7 separate regions of the Homo sapiens genome follow, and regions 2, 3, 4, 5, 6 and 7 are each linked to region 1. The links are contacts of gene promoters, found by promoter capture Hi-C in blood cells and fetal thymus (Javierre and others, 2016). All regions are on one chromosome and are shown on one strand. The core of a region is centred on a gene start or on the middle of the fragment in contact, and the rest is flanking DNA. Distances in the headings are between cores, read along the strand shown. Region 1 holds the start of RAD51B-AS1 (RAD51B antisense RNA 1). Region 2 overlaps RAD51B (RAD51 paralog B). Region 3 overlaps RAD51B (RAD51 paralog B). Region 4 overlaps RAD51B (RAD51 paralog B). Region 5 overlaps RAD51B (RAD51 paralog B). Region 6 overlaps RAD51B (RAD51 paralog B). Region 7 overlaps RAD51B (RAD51 paralog B).

Region 1 (2,594 bases), core at 26-2,525:
AAATTAGCCAGGCATGGTCTCAGCTACTCAGGAAGCTGAGGTGGGAGGATTGCTTGAGCCCAGGAGGCTGAGGCTGCAGTGAGCCGTGATCATGCCACTGCACTCCAACCTGGACAATAAAGCAAAAGATCCTGCCTCAAAAAAGAAGAAAGAGAACAGAGCCCTACAGAGAAGGAAGAAGGCAGGCACATTGTCACTTTTGCTCTCAAGCTCCCTGGATCTCTCCTAGAGGAGAGACCCCCAAACCTGCCTGCACTCCGCAGGAGCTGACTGGGGGAGGACCCTTTCCAGGGACACCTCCCTGGAGGTGCTCTAATATTTGGCTGCTTGGCCATTCTGGGCCAAGAAGACTCCTTCCCTAGCCCAGGACCATTAGTCTCCCTGATGATTGCTGCAGAAAGGCCCAATTTTCAGGGCCCTACCTAGCCCTTCAATACCTTTGAGCCACCCATCTTGTCTGAGCCAGAGTCCTAAAGCCAGTCCTGAGCTTCAAGACCCATGCTTGCCCTGGCCACTGCTTCCCCTGGGAGAGCTGCCTGGCTTCCTGCAGAGAGCTGGCCTGCAAGTTGGAAGGGCATATTCTCCTCCCGGCTCCCTGGCTAAATTGCTATAGAATTTCAGGTCACTCAAGTGAACTTTCTGTGACTATTTTTTCCTCCCTTCAAGATTTATCAACTATTAATTGGAGCCTCTAGATGCCTGCAATGTGGAGGTCCTGAGAATTCAATACAGAATAATACAAATGCAGTTCTTCCTGTGAAGCCTGGACAACCTTTCCCTTCCTTCCTTCCTTCTTTCCTTCCTTCCTTCCTTCCTTCCTTCCTTCCTTCCTTCTTTCTTGAGTTTCCTGATGCCAGCTCCTCAGATGGTGAGCCAGCGGTGGGAAGGTAGTGGTGGGGGTGATTATAAATACAATAAGAAATAAACCCACACACTGCAAAACTCCATGTTAATACTATTAATAGTATTTCCAAATTGCATACAGGTAGAAGACAGTTCCTTAGCAACATGATCGTAATGAGAATTCCACAAGGGCATCTGGAATTTACTCTGTCAGACATTCCAGCTTATCAGGAAATGAAAAGGACCAAGACTATCATATAATGTGCAAACTATGCTAATGCCTATCACTAGTGTATATCAGACCCCAGTTACAGGACTGACCCATGGGACTCCCCTTGTCTCAGCTTTAATCACATGAAGTACCTGAGGCCTGTTGTCCTCCTCGGGGCTCAATGCCTTCTTGCGGCCAGGTCCTTCGTATAATTCAAGAGTTGAAATCACTGTCAACACAGCCCTTTGACTAATGTTCCGGGGTGACAGGCCTGGCACGTGAACACATGAGTGATGCTATTATCCCCCAAATCACAGGTGAGTGAGGTCTCTGGAGATGTCCACCCCCACATGAATTTCCCTTTGTGGTAGCAGTAACATCTGAGTCACTAAGCATGGGGCCACAATTTAGGCTCACTCCCTCCCCTTCCTGTGCCCCAAAAGGGGGCTGAAGGCGGGTCCTCACAGCAGAAAAAGCTCCACTTCCTCCGAGCTCCAGACAGCACATCTCAGCTGTGTTGGGCCTTACAAGGCTGCGGTCAACAGGCACCCAGGTGATGAGGTCTTTCTCAGCCTGTTGTTCTCTTGTTAGCCCTTTGATGTTTCAAAGCTGACGAGGTCAGCATCTTCCAGGCTGCAGGAAACATGCCTGCCAGGTATACCTTTCAAGCAGCTGATTAATATGTCATGTGGTCTCTGGTCAGAGGAGAGTGTAAGGGCTGTTGAAATGACTCACCAGCTCAGCTCCCGTGTCTTTGGGAAACGCTACCCTGTCAGCAAGAGGCCTCCAGCTGAAAAGTAAAGACACAGATCTGAAAGGGTACAGTTCTAGCGTCCAACAAACTATTATACATCCTAAATGAAGTGAGAAATGGTAGGCTCTTCACCTGCCAGGGCCTGGCGGGGCCTGTGTCCCAGGACTGCTTAGGAATCCAAGCCTCGCACTGTTTATCCATTATACTGATGAGAAGCCTGTGAGACAGGGAGGCTTGCTGGGCCTCCAAAGTCCACTTGCTGGCTTGTTACTTGGCACCATCAGATCTACGCTAGGGATGGTGTAACTAGAGCCTTTGAGTGCATGAAAAGTCTGTGGCCTGACAAAGCACTTACTGACCAAGGAAAATCAACTTCAGGTGCAGCAGGAAAGGTCTGGTACCCAGAATGTCTGGGGTTTTGAGACACTGGAAAAGATTGCCTAATAATGTCATGGGCTCCCTTCCCTGGAAATAATCTGAAAATAGGATAAGTTCCCTCCAATCTTGGATGGGTCAACCTCGTCTTGAGGTAAGGAGACGGTTACATCAACCCATGGAGAGGGCCTGTCAGCAACTCTGAGTCTATTAGAGGGTATATTTTCAAACACAAAAAACTTTTTATCCTGGTAAAATATACCTAACGTAAAAGCTACCATTTTACCCATGTTTAAGTGTACAATTCAGTGGCATTAAGTACATTCACATCGTTGTATAAGCTTCCCCGTCATCTCTCTCCAGAACTTTTTCATCTTTCCAAACTGAAACTCTGTGCCCATTAAACACTGA
Region 2 (2,594 bases), core at 52-2,551, 470 kb before region 1:
CAGAATGGTTTCACTTCATTTCCAGTCACTTTCATTTTCAGGTTGTCAAGCTTCACTTAGTGTCAGTTGTGTTCCCACACTCAAACATGTGCCTTGTCTTCCTTGATCTTCTCTCTGAGGATGTTTCTCTGACTAATGTGCTGTGGTCAGAACAAGAGCATTGCCACATGGTGCATTTCCTAGGTAGGCATGTCTAAAATCATTAAGTGGCCTAGCTCAGAACATTCTTTGTGACCCTTTCCCCTCCCCACCCAGTGCCTAGTGACTGATTTATCTGAATATAAGGCTACTTCCACTTTTAGTTCAAGGGCCTTGCTCCCTGCCTGCAAGAATCTCTCTAATCACATTGCCCTCCCTCCACCCGCTTTCCCCATTGAAACCAATGTTTGGAGAAGATAGAAGAATGAAAAGAACATCTCAGGTCCTGTTTTTGTACCACCTTCACTATTGTAGCACCTCTTTTGTGTTGCCAACTGAATATGGTATACATGGCTTTAAGGGGGAAAAAAGAAAAATAAAACATAAGAAAGTAGGAGAGCTCCTAGCTTTCTTAAATGAATTAAAGGCCTTAGGCCAGAGTGAATTATATTATAGATTGTAGACTAGATATGGTGGGGAAGGTTACTCAACAACTTGGTTGGGAAATAAATTAATATATAAAACCATCAGATATCAGAGCATAGTTGTGGAAAGTCACCTAAGGAAAGTCATTGTCTCTAGGCCAAAGACTGGCCTAGACGTAAGTAATGCACCAGTGTGTCAGAAAGGGGGTTGGTCGACATCAGAAGCACCCAGAGGCAAACACTGGTTGTGCCCTGTACCCACAGTAACTGTCCATAGAAATGTGAATGTTGGTAGTCTTCAAAGTTTCAGTGTCACTGGCAAGTCCTTCTTTGTTGGAAATTCAATTTAACATTCAAGTTCTATAGCAAATGCCTCCTATTATGATGTCTTGTGTTTACAGTTTGCCTCTGTAAGTAGAACCCTCTAAAGGGAAAAATGCTCTGGTCAGATTGTTATGGTCTGTATGACAGATACATAACTGTTGTAAATCAACACATTGGCATTCTCGTTTGCTCCACCAGTTTGTTGTGAACTTCGTCAGGGGAAGGCATCATGCCTAAGTCTATTCAACTCTGGGATACTGACAAGGTCAAATTTCTGTGCCTGCAAGGCTGGGACTGGACCCAAGCTGTACAGTTCATACAATGAAATAGTGCCATTTAGTAAAAAAGGGAGATAATATGGCACTTGGTTGGAAGTTTGGCTCTAGAATCTGATTGAACTGGGTTTGAATACTAGGTCAGCCACTTACATGCTGTATGACCTAAGACCCCGCTCTAAAAAGGATATTATCTTTACACTGACCTCAGAGGGCTGTTTTGAGAATTAAATTAGACAATCCATGTAAAATACTTGACTCAGAGCCTTACATAGAGCTGTTAGCAGCAGCAACAACAGCAGCACCAGCAGCAAGGTAAATACCACCATGTGTGTCCTTTGGGTGGTCAGCAGTTTGCTGAACAATTTGGACTGGTTTAGAACCCTCCTAACTCACTACTGGGGACTTTCCATTGGAACCACAGCACTGGGTAGTGACAGAATTTGCCAGTGTAATCACATCATTTATGAGAAATGATAGCAATAGGGTTTGGTGTCATAGTAATGGAAAATGGCACTGGACACTATCCTAATTTTGAAGAAATGGAGTGAAGAAGAAGACATGTTCCAGAATGCACAGGACATTGATCTTCAGCAAATTTTTAGAGTGGATTACTGAATGATTACGTGTGAGAAAAATGTGATTATTAGGAGTCAATATGAGCTCATTGAAAACAAAACATTCCTATTTCTAACATCCTTAAAGTCTTTCACAGTTCATCTTATTGGTTATGGAAATGTCAAGGGATAGATTTTTATTTCTGGGAGGAGTTTGGCTAAGATTTTTATGATACTCTTGTTGTCTTGTTGAGGTTAAGTAGATTCATAGCTGGTTGAACAAATGTCCACTGGCAGTTTTGACCTGATGGATGGACTAATGTCCATCTGGAGAGGGGTCCTCAGGGTAAGCCTCAGGAACCTGTCTAGTGATGCTGTTCTATCCAATTTTCTCATTAAAAATTTCTGACGAAAGCACAAATAATGTGCTTTTGCAACAAGTGAGATAGGATTTTTTAAAGATCTGTGTAGGTTGATGGGCGGATTTGCTAATAACAACCATATGTAGCATTTATTGAGTACTTACTGTGTGCCAGGCAAAATGCTAAATGTGTTGTATGACTTCTCTCATTTAATCCTCACAGTGACCCTCTGAGGTGTATACTAGTAATATTCCATTCTATAGATAGATGTAGAGGCACAGATATGCTAAGTCATTTACCCAAGTCCCACAGCCAATAAGAGGCACAGATGGCAGAGGACCATTTGTCTATCACCAAAGCCCATGCTCATAACTGTATTATGCTACTAGAACCAGTGAGTCAGAATTTTACACAGATTAATGTAAAGTCCTAAGCTAAGGTTAACAAAATAGTATGTTAAGTCTTGAAGGAGGAAGCTTAGGTTGATAGCAAGTAATAAGGAAAAGATTTAGG
Region 3 (2,594 bases), core at 72-2,571, 420 kb before region 1:
CTGTTCTTGAACGAAATGCAAAGCAAGGGAGGATGATTTAAAAGCTCTCATTGTTCAATTCCCACCTGTGAGTGAGGACACAGGAAGGGGAACATCACACACCGGGGACTGTTGTGGGGTAGGGGGAGGGGGGAGGGATAGCATTAGGAGATATACCTAATGCTAAATGAGGAGTTAATGGGTGCAGCATACCAACATGGCACATGTATACATATGTAACAAACCTGCACGTTGTGCACATGTACCCTAAAACTTAAAGTATAATAATAATAAAATAAAAATAAATAAACATAAAAAAATAAAAGCTCAGAGCACAAATAGAGTACTCAGAAGTTTTTGCTAGGTTATCATGTGTAATTTAACAAGATGGCATTTATCTTTTTTTTAAGAGACTGAAGAAGAATTAGACAAGGTTAGCTGTGTAAAGCCAGTGGTAATCTGCCACATGTGGTTATAAATGGCCATAATTTTGTATGATCCCAAAGCAAGATAGATAGCAGATTAAGGGTCAGCACAGATCTGCAAGTTGAGCTCATGGCACTTTATTTCCCTCCCTAGCCCCTTTTCTAGTGCTTAGGTAGCAGGCACCAGTTAAGCATGGTGTCTTGACCATGATACTGTGGACCAAGCAGCGATATGGCTATGGCTATATCACTGTTTTGCCTGAGAGTCATTTATTCCTTCATTATATATTTATTGGGCATCTACTCCGGGCCAGGCATGTGTTGGGCATTGAGAAAGTGGTGAAAAAGACAGAGGTCCTGTCCTCAAGGAGCTTTCATTCCAGTGGAAGAATTCAGATAATACACAAAATAACAAATATATAAGATATTTTCGAGTGGTGATATATTTGACCAGGGAAATAAAACTAAGGAAAGTGATAATGGGGGGGTGTGGAGACTGGCTGCTATAAAATGGGTGAGCAGAGGAGGCCTCTATGAGGAGGACTTGCATTAGCTGAGACCTAAGTCATGAGAAGCATCCCCATGGGTCTTGGGAAAAGTGAGGAAAACATATTCAAATAGAAAGAAATATCTGGTGCAAAGGCTCTGGGATAGGAGTAAGCTTAGAGTATCCCAGAACAAAAAGAGGGCCAGTGTGGCTGAGAGACCGTGTGTGTGTGTGTGTGTGTGGAGAGGGGAAGACAGCGGGGGTAGAGATAGTAGGGGAGTAATTACCTCACAAGTTTCATGGCTGACACCTCTATAACAAAGGAGATTAACAAGAGAAAAGCATAGCACATTTATTTAACCAAAGTTTTACATGATGCAGGAGCCTTCAGAAATTAAGATCCAGACCCAAGGAAAGCTGTATTATTATGGTTAGGTTTGATGAAGCATGGACAGTCATGTAGAAGTATAGTTGGACAAAAAGCAGATATGACCTAATGATGATAAACTAGGGGGATCTTAGCAAAGCCTGTTTGTTTAGTTTCTTCTTGGCCTCTGTGTTTAACATTCCATCCCTCCGGGTATAGTCAAGACACCTGTCTCATGAGGGTCTTCAAGAGAGAAGGTCAGAGAGACCTTTTTGCTTCTGCAGTTTTCTTAACTTCCTTCAGCTTAATACTCAGTGCGCCAAGCTTCCATATTTGGGGGTAGCATTTTCTGCACTCTATCATGCTATAAGCTGATTTTCTCACATTTAGAGGAACATTCAACAGCTAACATAAACAATTACCTGATGTCATATTTGAAGATATACTTAGATAATAAGGTCTTAAAAAACAGTAAGTACATTAAGTACATTCACAACAATTGTTAATCTTCCATTAGTTCTGAAATGCCTAATCTAACCTTTGTTTTATCTCAGACTTGGGCTAGAATGCTCCTTTTAATTCATTCTGCATGATTTCATAGAATCAATTTTTTCTTAAGGTCTCATATCCTTCAAAGACTTTAGGGCAATTGGTCACGAAGACCCTTGCACCTCCTCAAGGCTGTGTGCTGTGGATGTTGCAGCTTAAGGAAGCATTTTGAAATTGGGCATCTTTCACAGCCTAGTGTAGAAGTTATTGGCCCGCAGTTTTTACCGGCTTTCTCTTTCAGAAATCTTCTTTTGTTCCTGCCACAAGGCAAAAACAGGAAAAGAGATCTGTGTGAAAGAATGCTCTCCCTTTTCCTTTTGTGGTGATTGTGTATCTTAAGAGAAGGCCTCAAAGGTTCCCGGAGCTGTCTGTCTTTTCATGTAAATGGAGCCCTTAAGCCTATTTAGAAGTGTGCGAAAAGACTGTGGGAGTTGAGGTGAAAGATACAGAAGAGTAGCATCAGCACCCCGTTTAATGTATTCAAGTTCAACTGTGCACTCTCTCTTTCTTGTATATAATTAAAAATACTGCAGAATTGTATTTTGCACTTGTACTTTTAATTATATGCTATTCATATTACTATATACCCATATAGTGTGCAGCGTTGCAACTACAAAACCATATATTTTGTATTGGGAGGTTTAAGGGATTTTCCAGGGTAATTTTGACCGCGTAAAATTTGCCTTACATGCCAACTCTAGAATACAATCCCCACGTAAGATGTAACCCTCTATATTAGGTATTTTTAAATCCCTGCTTATCCCAAAGTGAGCAGAACTGGGACTCA
Region 4 (2,594 bases), core at 31-2,530, 410 kb before region 1:
ACTGTGTAGATTTATGAGCAGTGGTGGATGGCACAGGGATGGGGTCTTGGGCCCTCAAAGCCCTCCGAGGTAGTACTGGCTACTGGGAAAAGGATGTCGGGGAGCAGGTCCCACTTTTAGCTGCACTTGAAAAGATGAGTGTACAAAGCTTATGGAGTACTCAGGACGGAGAGAACATGGTGAGTGTTAGGGAAGGAAGCCTTAAATATAAACTTTACTCTTTAACCTCCTTGCAATCTCACTCTGAACCTCCTTAGTCCCAGGTATGGGTTTCTCTCACTTCTTACTTCCATAGTCCTCTCTTGGAAGCTCTTTGGCTGAATTAATGAAGGGGACCACTACTCATAAACCATAACCAGCACTTACGAGGAGCCTCACATTAGTAATGGACGACAACCCTCAGAGACAGCCATAGGTCCTAATGCTATTATTAATAGTCAAACCTGTGTAGAGAAAAAGGAGAAGCCAAGATCCAGTTCCACGGGACATAACAATTCACAAGCAGCTCATCCTTATTTCAGAAAGCCAGTAAGACCTAGCTTTCTCATGGAGGTTATTCTTTCACCGTCAGTCTGCCTCTTTTTCTGGGAGGTGCCCTCCCCTTCAGGATCAAGGAATGTAAAGACCATGAGATATGGAGTCAGACTTGGGTTTAGGCCCATTTATATGCTGTAAACTTTAGGCAAGTCACTTTTTCTCTCTGATACGGAAAGAGATATAATATATACCTTATTGATGTTGATAAAGATGTTCAGATGAAATTTTATATTCATATAAATGTGTATATTATATATATGGCCCGTTCATTATTTTAAAGCAATGTAAATAATTCTTATCTATTACCATAGTATTTCAAAGGCTACATCTTGCCACAGGTGAGAATCAGAGGTATGTTCTGGGGGTTTTTTTTGTTTGTTTTTGAGACAGAGTCTCGCTTTGTCATCCAGGCTGGAGTGTAGTGGCATAATCTTGGCTCACTGCAACCTCCGTCTCCCAGGTTCAAGCAATTCTCTCATGTGCCTCAGCCTACCAAATAGCTGGGACTATAGGCGCGTGCCACCATGCCTGGCTAATTTTTGTATTTTTGGTAGAGACAGGGTTTTGCCATGTTGGCCAGGCTGGTCTTGAACTCCTGGACTAAAATGATCTGCCCGTCTTGGCCTCCCAAAATGTTGGGATTACAGGCGTGAGCCACTGCGACCAGCCAGAGGCGTGCTGTGTTCTATTGGCTCTTTTGCCTACCAGTGCCAGAAATTTCCTACACTTCTTGGCATCTTGCTTTTCTCTCCTATGAAATAGGCAATACTAGTTGCCCTAGAGAAGAAATTTATCTAGAGAAAAAAATGTACAAGGTAGACACAGCTGGTGAGTTACCCTTATACTATTTCCAGTACTACCAATTTCATTTCTTCCAGAAGGATTTAGAATGCCACATAGTAGTTTTCCTGGTGCCATGCTTGAAATGGTGAATCTATTTGAAAGAAGGGATTTTGTAGTCACATTGATGTTGCTGCTTGCTGCAAGCCAGGCAAGTCACTTAATATCTTTATCCTTAAAAGAGGAATAATGTCACCTACCTCATGGTGTTACGATGAGGATGAAAGGAGGTCTGTAACTAAGGCACTGAACATGGTGTTTGATACTCACTGGGTACCCAGTAAATGTTAGTTTTCTTTGTCTAGACTATGTAGTGCTCTTCAGTTTTCACCCTGATCAAATTGCATTTGTTAAAAATTCCAAGTAAGACATGGCACTGGGTACTTTAAATAAAGGGGTGCTAAGGGAAGGTCAGCATGCGGTAGAGGGCTGAAAGAGCCAGTTACATTTGTTTGTTTGTTTGTTTTGTTTTGTAATAAACAACAGTGGCTTCTCATCTCCTTTCCCTGGTCCTGAGCCTGCTGAGTCACTGTTCCAGCCCTTGGGCCACATGATCTCAGGCTGTGTCTATGGAATACAGCAAAACCCACAAGAAACCAGCACTAATAGATGGCAGGTCATTTTGAGGGATTTTTCTTTGCGTTCCTGTGCTTGCTCTCCTGGTGAGATAGGAAACCTTTAATAAGACTTTTCCTAAATGATGTTGCATGTGAAATGCAGATTTTTTTTTTTCTGTTCTCCTAACAAATGACCATTTCATGAGGTTTCTTTTCATTTTTTCTTCTTTCCTGCTTCTCAGTACATTCCACAAAGAGCTTATTCCTCTGCTGGTTACTGATTGATGGTTCTACTCTGTATGCCCTTTAATTTTGCAATAAACCAACAAGGAGTTGAGACCACAAACTTAAAGAGAATTGACTTATTTGACTGGATTCACTGGAGCCAACAGGCAGATTTAGTCATTTCAGTGTGGTGCTAGGGAGGGCAGGAGGAGTCCATGAGAAGGAACACCGTGTTGTCAATAACCAGACAGAAAAAAGCTTGCTTGTCCTCTCATTCCAAAGCATGTGGGCATCTGTTCTCGGCAGTGATGCCTTTCCAGGCCTTGATGAAGGCAGGACGGCTTCCATGAGATTTGCTCAGAACTCCAGGATTCTGAATTCAGTGGGACTTTAGGTATGTAGGATTGGTAGTCAGTGTTTCCAGCTTCTGTGTCC
Region 5 (2,594 bases), core at 62-2,561, 390 kb before region 1:
TATACACACACACTTAATTCAGCTCTGAGGAGACCAGAATAGAGTAAACTGCTTCCTTATTTGAAAATCAGTAAGTACTTTTATTTGTGTTGCCTTCCTGGTTTATCTTAAGCAAAGAAGAAGAGCAAAACACATAGAAAAGAAATTGCTTCAGGGTTGCAGTATAACTGCCACAAGAAACCCCTGACTTGTGTTCATAGCAAAGGAAGAGTTACCAGGTTATCCTCCCAGAAATCCAACAAAGAATGGAAATAATTGATTTTTCTAGATTTTTTTTTTGTATAGCTGAGCAGATAAAGAGGCTATATAAATATATTCCTATAGTCTATAATGAAGGTTTTTATTAGTGGATTAAAATGAACAATGTCTTAGAACATTTATAGCCATTCAAATATATTACAATGGATGTTAAGTTCCTGTGATTTACACACACACAGACATGCACACGCATGTATAAATTGCTCTGTTTTGCTTCAAGCATTCATTGTATCAGCTTTGCCATTGTGTTATTAACTGTGGTGTTAGGCAGGCCCTTTTGATGACTTTGGGTCTCAGTTTCTTCTGTTACATGACAGGTTGGAAGAATACAAGATTGCTAAAGTGTTTTCCAGCTCTAGCATATAAGATCATGAGGTAGGTCTGAAGGTCAGGAGCATTCACCCACTGATGGGGTTTTAATTCTGACTTACAGAGTAGGAAGAATGGCCGTGTTGCTGATGTTGCCCTAGATTAAACACAATAAAAAGGATCTTTAATAAATCTTAGCACTGATACTTCGGCATACCTGCAGGAGCCTTTCCTCCCTGTATGTTTTCTCTTTGTCACTCTGGGGACACTTCTGGTCTTGTCTGTCTGTCTCTTGCTCTCTCTGCCTCTCTCCACACAAAGGTGTACAAAATCAGAAGTGTGTGCAAACCAGTGAGAATGAGAAACACACTGGGATGGGGTGACTGGTCAATTTGCATAAGTTCCAAAAGTTCCATTCTCCCAATAGTTTGTGAATGGGATAGTTTGTGAAAGGCAGGCTGCAAATTGACAAGCACACTGCAAATATGAGGAGATATTTTAAGTAAATAGAGAAAATTCAGTTTGCCCTCTCATTCCTTCTCAAGGCACAAAGCTCAGGGGCAGGAGCAATGCCGGGAAAGTCCTTGGCCCTTGGGGTGTACTTCTCCCTTCTTTGGCTCTCCCACCTGGGAGCTGGATAACTCAACAGTGGAATGAAACCTCAATGAAGGGAATTATACCATGATGTCAAGCAGTGAACATGAGTCTACTTAATCCAAGCCAACAACTCAGCCACAAATTTAATAAGGGTGGTGGGGCGGGGAGACCCAGCAACACAAAAACAAAGAACTCTCAACTTTACAAACACTGGGAGGGCAACAGCTGGTCAGCCGAGATTAAAGGAGCGTGAGAGAGCACCTCCCATCTCCTGACTTCTCCTCCCCCATAGACGTCCCTGCAGCCAGCCAGGGCTCGCTTTTTACAGCCCTGTGCAGATGACCTTGTTCCAGCTAAGATAGGAGCTCTTTTGATCTCAGCAGGGGGATGCTCTGGGCCTGCAGCTGGCAGATATTAATAGTACAGGATCTGTTGGGGTGGAAGAGATCTCTCGGTTGGGCCAGGTCACTTGTATTCCCTCCTCTGCATCAGAGCAGAAGGGACTTCATTTCCCTGAGTCAGCCCCTGCTGCGTACTACTCCTCTTAGGTCAACTCAGATCATTTTATCGCTGGCTGCTCTTGGCTGCTTGTTCTCACCTCACAACTGTTTTCAAGGGAGCACTGTTTAAGCAGTGTACTGTGCACTGCAGCTGAAATCTATTACAGGACAGGGTAGACCTTGCCCCCCGCCCCCAAATCCCAGTGTGTGTCTCATACTCACTGGTTTGCACACACTTCTGATTTTGTATACCTTTGTGTGGAGACAGGCAGAGAGAGCAAGAGACAAGATCTGAAGTGTACACAGAGTGAGAAAGAGACAGCAATACAGGAAGGGGAGACTGTTGCAGGTATGCCAGAGTACCAATGCTAAGATTTCTGAAGGTCCTTTTTGTTGTGTTTAGGGCAACATCAACAACACAGTCATTTTTCCCACTCTGTAAATCAGAATTAAACCCTATCATTGGGTGAATGTTTCTGATCTTCAGGCCCTCCTTATGATCTTAACTGTTAGAGCTGGAAAAGACTGTAGCAATCTTCTAGTATCCACTCTGTCATTCAACAGAAGAGATAGGGACAGAAATAAGGATTTTTTCTACATTGTTCTAGACTAGGTACTTTGAGTCACAGTATTTTCTTCTTCAGATTTCATTTCATTGACAGAAGTTCAGACATATAGGTTATTATAGAGTTCCCTGCTCAGTTATTGTGACTGTTGTGTGGCCAAGGACACATTTCTTAGCCCTTGCCAATTCTTCCTTATGGTCATTGGAGATACTAAGAACTGTTGGACCTCAGTCATAGGTAACATCTCTTTCCCCCAGAGTGATTAATAGAGAAGGGATCTAACAGTCCAAATGGCCTAAGATGCCATATCCTATTCCAAAGTCACCTGGGATTTGAGCAGAACCAGATGAGTGCCCACCTACAG
Region 6 (2,594 bases), core at 69-2,568, 350 kb before region 1:
GCCAAACATGGTGCATCCTCATTACCCACATTTGTACGTCCTTAGTTCGACTTCCCAGCCCAGGGAGACTAGCATCAATGAATCTAAATTCCTGAGAGAGGATCTGATCAGTCTGGCACAGGTGATATGTCTGCCCTTAATCCAACCAGACAACATGGCTTAAACATGGCTGCCAAGGGCCCACCCATGTGTAGGTTAAGTTTGGAGGCTATTTAGCTATCTCAAAGTGTATCTTTATGCTTGCCATATTTTTTTTCTTTTTTGAAGGAAATTTTGTATTATTTTAATTATTTTTATGGACAGAAAACTCAACAGTGTACATTTAACCCAGTTCAGTGGCAAAGTTCTTTAACCTTTGCCTTTTCGAGCTTGATAATGTGAGCTACAGACTTGAGACCCAGGACATTGCCTCCCCAGTGACAGTGGATCTCATCGTATCTGTCGTAGTTGGTCCTGATAGCTTCCACCAGCTTAGCCAAAGCTCCTTTGTCTTCCGAGTTAACCTTTGTGAAGACAACAGTGGTGCAGGTCTTCCTGTGGACTAGATGTCCCAGTCTTGCCTTCCCCTTGATAATGCAGTAAGGGACCCCCTTTTTACAACATGGGGCAGGCAGGCAGAAGACAGCCAGCTCGATGGGATCGACATCGTGTGCAGTCATCACCAGCTGAGCTTTCTTGTTCTCCACCAAGGTGGTGACCATGTTAACTCCTGCTCGAAGGACAGGTGGTCTCTTAGTGGGGATGTCCCCTTTGCTGGTAGCTTTCTTCTTGGCCTGGGCCAACAGCCTCTGCTTCTTCTCTTGCTTTGTCTCTGGCCTGTACTTGTGGGCCAGCTTAAGCAGCTGAGTAGCTGTTTGGTGGTCCAGGGCCTGGGTGAACTGGTTAATGGCAGGAGGCACTTACATCCACTTACAGAGGATGGCTCTCTGCCGCTGCAACCTGATATAGTGGGGCCATTTCACAAAGCGGGTGAGGTCTCTTTGGGGCTGGATATCCTGTCCAATGCCAAAATTCTTAAGCCTTTTCTCAAACAGGGGATTCACCACTTCCTTGGCCTCCTGCTTCTTTATGACAGCAGGAGCTGGAGCCATTTTTTCTCCTTGGCTTTCTTTCCTTTCAGCATCTTGGGTGGCGGGAGGAGAGACTTATGGTTGCCATATTTTTCATCTAGCATTATACCAAATAACTTTGTTTCTAATTTCAGTTTTATTGATGATATTTTCGCCTTTAAAGAAGGTGAAAAGCAACAATTTTCATATATCAGGGGTGATTTAACGTTACAGATGCCACTAAGATGAACATTGAATGTACTGTTCTCTCTCTAAGCCTAGTTCTTCCTCTTATAAATAGGGATCAGTCTAAATGTTGAGAAAATTAGAGAATTGGGAAATCTGCCTCTCCTAAGTAGTAAAAGTTGAAAAGTAGTACAGTAAGATAGCAATCTAATAGCACAGTCATTTTCTACAATGTATATAATTTTAATCATCACAATAAAGAATGTTTAAAGAAATTGAGGTAGTTTAATCATAGGCAGTGCTGAGATGTGACCATATAATGATCTTTTAGAGAGAAGGCTGCTACTTTTTCTTTGTCTACACAAGGGTTAAAAAAAGAAGAAATGTTTTTAGGAGGAATGTAACATAGTGCCTGGCACATGGTTAGTATTCAATAGTATTTTACTAATAGTGTTTACTTAGAAATATTTATCAGAAATAACTTCAAGGTGTCTTTGGACCGATACAATGAGTTACCAAGGAAAGTAAATACATCTTTCCTTCTTCCTTTTTTTACCATTAAAGGAAACCAAAATACTTCACCCTCAAATATACTTCTTTGACATATTTGAGATGGCTATTCAGAGAACCTGCAGACAGGAATAGCCCTGTAAAACTACCTTTTGTGGGGGAGATTTACATCTGTAGAGAAAATCTACATTGCTGAAATAAACAGCCAGCCTTTCTGTGCTGTGACTTGTCTGGATCTAGGACAGATGGGCTCCTGGGAGAGAGAGACTGAGAGTTTGACACCTCTGGGGATCTAATAGAAACTTACTCTTTTGGAGGGCTGCTACCTGTGAGGTTTCATCTGCATTACAAGACTGCCTTTGCTAGCCATGCTTTTCTTCTCTTCCACCCATAACTGGTCTTGCCAGACTCTAAGCCTCTATTCCTTCTGTAACCTCAGGATGAAAACTTCAACTATCTGACCCTTTCTTTGAGTTTTTCTTATTTTTTATAACTCCTGTGCACATGCGTGCATATTACTATTTTTGTATGCCTTTTTTCCTATTAACCTGCCTTTTGTCAGTTGATTTTCAGTAAACACTCAGAGGTTGAAGGGGAGGTTTTCCCTAGGCTCCTATACCATCTTGCATATTTGGGATATCCCAAGACATCCATGACGCTTGGCTCTCTAGGACATTGAAATCTGGTTAGGGAAGTAAAATATGAAAGCAATGGAGAACAGTCTGCCTTTGGCACTCAGAGATCTCTAGATGTTTTCACTTGTCCCATTTCATCCTTATAGGTTAAGAAGCAGGGAAATAGAGTTCATTACAATTTCAAATTATAATTTTGCTGATATTTTCCCCTTCA
Region 7 (2,594 bases), core at 36-2,535, 330 kb before region 1:
ATTTCCCTTTCTGTGAAATGAGAAGATAATCCCAGTATTAGGGTACTATCCGAGTACCTTCAGGCTTTTTAGGAAGAACTCTAGTGAGTAAGCTCTCTGGCTGTAGAGGGGACCGTGATGCACAGTAAAAAGAACCCCATCTTGTCACTGGAGGGATATAGGCAGCCGCCCAATGGGAGCTCCCATACTGTAGAGATGGCACTCTTGCTTTGGTGGGACTAGTACAGATGTATTTTTTATGTCCCATTTCTTATGTTGCCTATTTTTTGGAGACATATTTGTTTGTTAACTCTTTGAGTTTCATAAAGAAAACATTAATACAAATTTTATTGAGTGGTAGGTTAGCTCCAATATCCTCAAAATAGATTGAGCATTTTAGAATTCACCTTAATGTTACCTGGAATGCAAAAAGATTTGCCTAAAACGTTTAGCTCCTCATTTTGTTACTGGCTTCATTCTGATTTTGGAAACAACAGAAAGTAAAGTGGAACTGGGGTTTTGGGTCTATTAGATTCTCCAATTTAATCTCGCCCATCTATTCCTGATATTAATAAACTCTTTCTAATATCAGTTGGCCATGGTTGTCATTCTGGTAAATACCTCCCTGGAACCGGACTGAATAAAATTCATGAGACTTGCTGGTCACAGCTGGAGATTGGTTCAGTGGTTTGGGTTTTTTTTTCTACCAAAGTGAAAATAGAATTATTGTTATTATTGTTTTCTAGTTTTAAAATGACTAAAAGTACAAAGGAAAAATGGAAAAGTCAATTTAAATCCTACTGCTGAGAGAAATAACATTTTGGTGAGCAACTCTCCAGATCACTCTCAGAATGTGCATATTATACTTCCATGTGCCATTGTTAGAAAACAAGAGTGTACTTTCTCATTGTGGACAACTCTATGTCCATAAATAATGACACCATTAATTATAGTGACAGTATATAATATTCCATTAAACAGCTGTGCTATTATCCATTTATGCATTTCCCAATTATTATTCATTTAGGTTTTTTTATATTGCTTACTATCATTTAAAAATTGCAGTAAACATTCTTTTACATCCAGATTTCCAAATTTGTCTAATTATCTCCCAGGTTATATAGCCATATCTTGAGGATATTGTAGACATGGTTCCAGACCATTGCAATAAAGTAAATATTGCAATAAAGTGAAATACATTTTTTGGTTTCCCAGTGCATATAAAAGTTATGTTGGCCGGGCGCGGTGGCTCACGCCTGTAATCCCAGCACTTTGGGAGGCCGAGGTGGGCGGATCACAAGGTCAGGAGATCGAGACTATCCTGGCTAACAGGGTGAAACCCCGTCTCTACTAAATAAATACAAAAAAATTAGCCGGGTGCAGTGGCGGGCGCCTGTGGTCCCAGCTACTCCGGAGGCTGAGGCGGGAGAATGGCGTGAACCCAGGAGGCGGAGCTTGCAGTGAGCCGAGGTTGTGTCACTGCACCCCAACCTGGGCGACAGAGCGAGACTCCGTCTCAAAAAAAAAAAAAAAAAAAAAGTTATGTTTACACTCTACTCTATTAAAAGTGCAATAGTATTATATTTTTTAAAAACAATATAGATTACCTAAATTTAAAATACTTAATTGCTAAAAAAAAAAATGCTAGGGATCATCGGAGCCTTCAGTGAGTTATAATCTTGCTGGTGAAGGGTCTTGCCTTAGTGTTGAAGGTTGCTGACTGTTCAGGGGGTGGTTGCTGAAGGTTGGAGTGGCTGTAGCAATTTCTTAAAAAATGACAATAGGCCGGGCGCGGTGGCTCACGCCTGTAATCCCAGCACTTTGGGAGGCCGAGGCGGGCGGATCACGAGGTCAGGAGATCGAGACCATCCCGGCTAAAACGGTGAAACCCCGTCTCTACTAAAAATACAAAAAAAATTAGCCGGGCGCGGTGGCGGGCGCCTGTAGTCCCAGCTACTTGGGAGGCTGAGGCAGGAGAATGGCATGAACCCGGGAGGCGGAGCTTGCAGTGAGCCGAGATCCCGCCACTGCACTCCAGCCTGGGCGACAGAGCGAGACTCCGTCTCAAAAAAAAAAAAAAAAAAAAATGACAATAATGAAGTTTGCCTTATGGATTGACTCTTATGAAAGATTGCTCTGTAGCATGTCATGCTGTTTGATAACATTTTATCCACGGTAGAACTTCTTTCAAAATTGGAGTCAATCCTTTCAAACCCTGCCACTGCTTTGTCAACTAAGTTTCTGTGATATTCTAAATCCCTTGTTGTCATTTCAACATTGTTCATAGCATCCTCACCAGTAGATTCCATCTCAAGAGACCACTTTCTTTGCTTATCCAAAAGAAGCAACTCCTCATCATGTTTTGTCATGAGATTGCAGCAATTCAGTCACATATTCGGGCTCCATTTCTAATTCTAATTCTCTTGCTATTTCCGCCACATCTGCAGTAACTTCTTCCAATGAAGTCTTGAACCCCTCAAAGTCATTCATGAAGGTTAGAATCTTATTCCAAGCTCCTATTAAGGATGGTATTTTGACCTCCTCCTATGAATCACGAATCTTCTGAATGGCATCTAGAATGCTGAATCCTTTCTAGAAGATTTTCAACTTACTTT

Evidence for each region. Contacts are between HindIII fragments. The CHiCAGO score rates a contact against its expected background, and 5 or more counts as called.
Region 2: a fragment that was not itself captured here is called in contact with the fragment with the promoter of RAD51B-AS1 in region 1 in 8 of 17 cell types (total B cells, activated CD4 T cells, M1 macrophages and 5 more); the score reaches 9.2 in total B cells.
Region 3: a fragment that was not itself captured here is called in contact with the fragment with the promoter of RAD51B-AS1 in region 1 in 10 of 17 cell types (non-activated CD4 T cells, total B cells, activated CD4 T cells and 7 more); the score reaches 11.9 in non-activated CD4 T cells.
Region 4: a fragment that was not itself captured here is called in contact with the fragment with the promoter of RAD51B-AS1 in region 1 in 10 of 17 cell types (naive B cells, activated CD4 T cells, non-activated CD4 T cells and 7 more); the score reaches 14.0 in naive B cells.
Region 5: a contact is called between a fragment that was not itself captured here and the fragment with the promoter of RAD51B-AS1 in region 1, in 12 of 17 cell types (non-activated CD4 T cells, naive B cells, activated CD4 T cells and 9 more). The highest score is 15.2, in non-activated CD4 T cells.
Region 6: a fragment that was not itself captured here is called in contact with the fragment with the promoter of RAD51B-AS1 in region 1 in 1 of 17 cell types (non-activated CD4 T cells); the score reaches 5.2 in non-activated CD4 T cells.
Region 7: a contact is called between a fragment that was not itself captured here and the fragment with the promoter of RAD51B-AS1 in region 1, in 2 of 17 cell types (total B cells and naive B cells). The highest score is 7.3, in total B cells.

What each region holds. Positions count from the first base shown.
Region 1 is chr14:68,684,165-68,686,758 of GRCh38, forward strand. It overlaps RAD51B-AS1 (RAD51B antisense RNA 1), which reads right to left and starts at 1,276. Exons shown (of 4, transcript XR_007064220.1): 1 at 1,207-1,276. RefSeq lists an enhancer at 1,564-1,613. The HindIII fragment of the contact is 3,133 bases long and covers 1-2,522 here.
Region 2 is chr14:68,210,976-68,213,569 of GRCh38, forward strand. All of the region lies in intron 7 of RAD51B (RAD51 paralog B), which reads left to right. Among named protein-coding and RNA genes, the nearest start is that of RAD51B, 390 kb to the left of the region's middle. RefSeq lists an enhancer at 1-233. The HindIII fragment of the contact is 2,507 bases long and covers 49-2,555 here.
Region 3 is chr14:68,259,187-68,261,780 of GRCh38, forward strand. All of the region lies in intron 7 of RAD51B (RAD51 paralog B), which reads left to right. Among named protein-coding and RNA genes, the nearest start is that of RAD51B-AS1, 420 kb to the right of the region's middle. The HindIII fragment of the contact is 517 bases long and covers 1,064-1,580 here.
Region 4 is chr14:68,276,837-68,279,430 of GRCh38, forward strand. The region is part of intron 7 of RAD51B (RAD51 paralog B); the gene reads left to right. Among named protein-coding and RNA genes, the nearest start is that of RAD51B-AS1, 410 kb to the right of the region's middle. RefSeq lists a silencer at 2,136-2,430. The HindIII fragment of the contact is 2,269 bases long and covers 147-2,415 here.
Region 5 is chr14:68,294,030-68,296,623 of GRCh38, forward strand. All of the region lies in intron 8 of RAD51B (RAD51 paralog B), which reads left to right. Among named protein-coding and RNA genes, the nearest start is that of RAD51B-AS1, 390 kb to the right of the region's middle. RefSeq lists a silencer at 823-1,117 and enhancers at 1,323-1,617, 1,570-1,679. The HindIII fragment of the contact is 5,664 bases long and covers 1-2,594 here.
Region 6 is chr14:68,338,406-68,340,999 of GRCh38, forward strand. All of the region lies in intron 8 of RAD51B (RAD51 paralog B), which reads left to right. It also overlaps the pseudogene RPL7AP5. Among named protein-coding and RNA genes, the nearest start is that of RAD51B-AS1, 350 kb to the right of the region's middle. The HindIII fragment of the contact is 8,350 bases long and covers 1-2,594 here.
Region 7 is chr14:68,354,938-68,357,531 of GRCh38, forward strand. All of the region lies in intron 8 of RAD51B (RAD51 paralog B), which reads left to right. Among named protein-coding and RNA genes, the nearest start is that of RAD51B-AS1, 330 kb to the right of the region's middle. The HindIII fragment of the contact is 3,314 bases long and covers 1-2,594 here.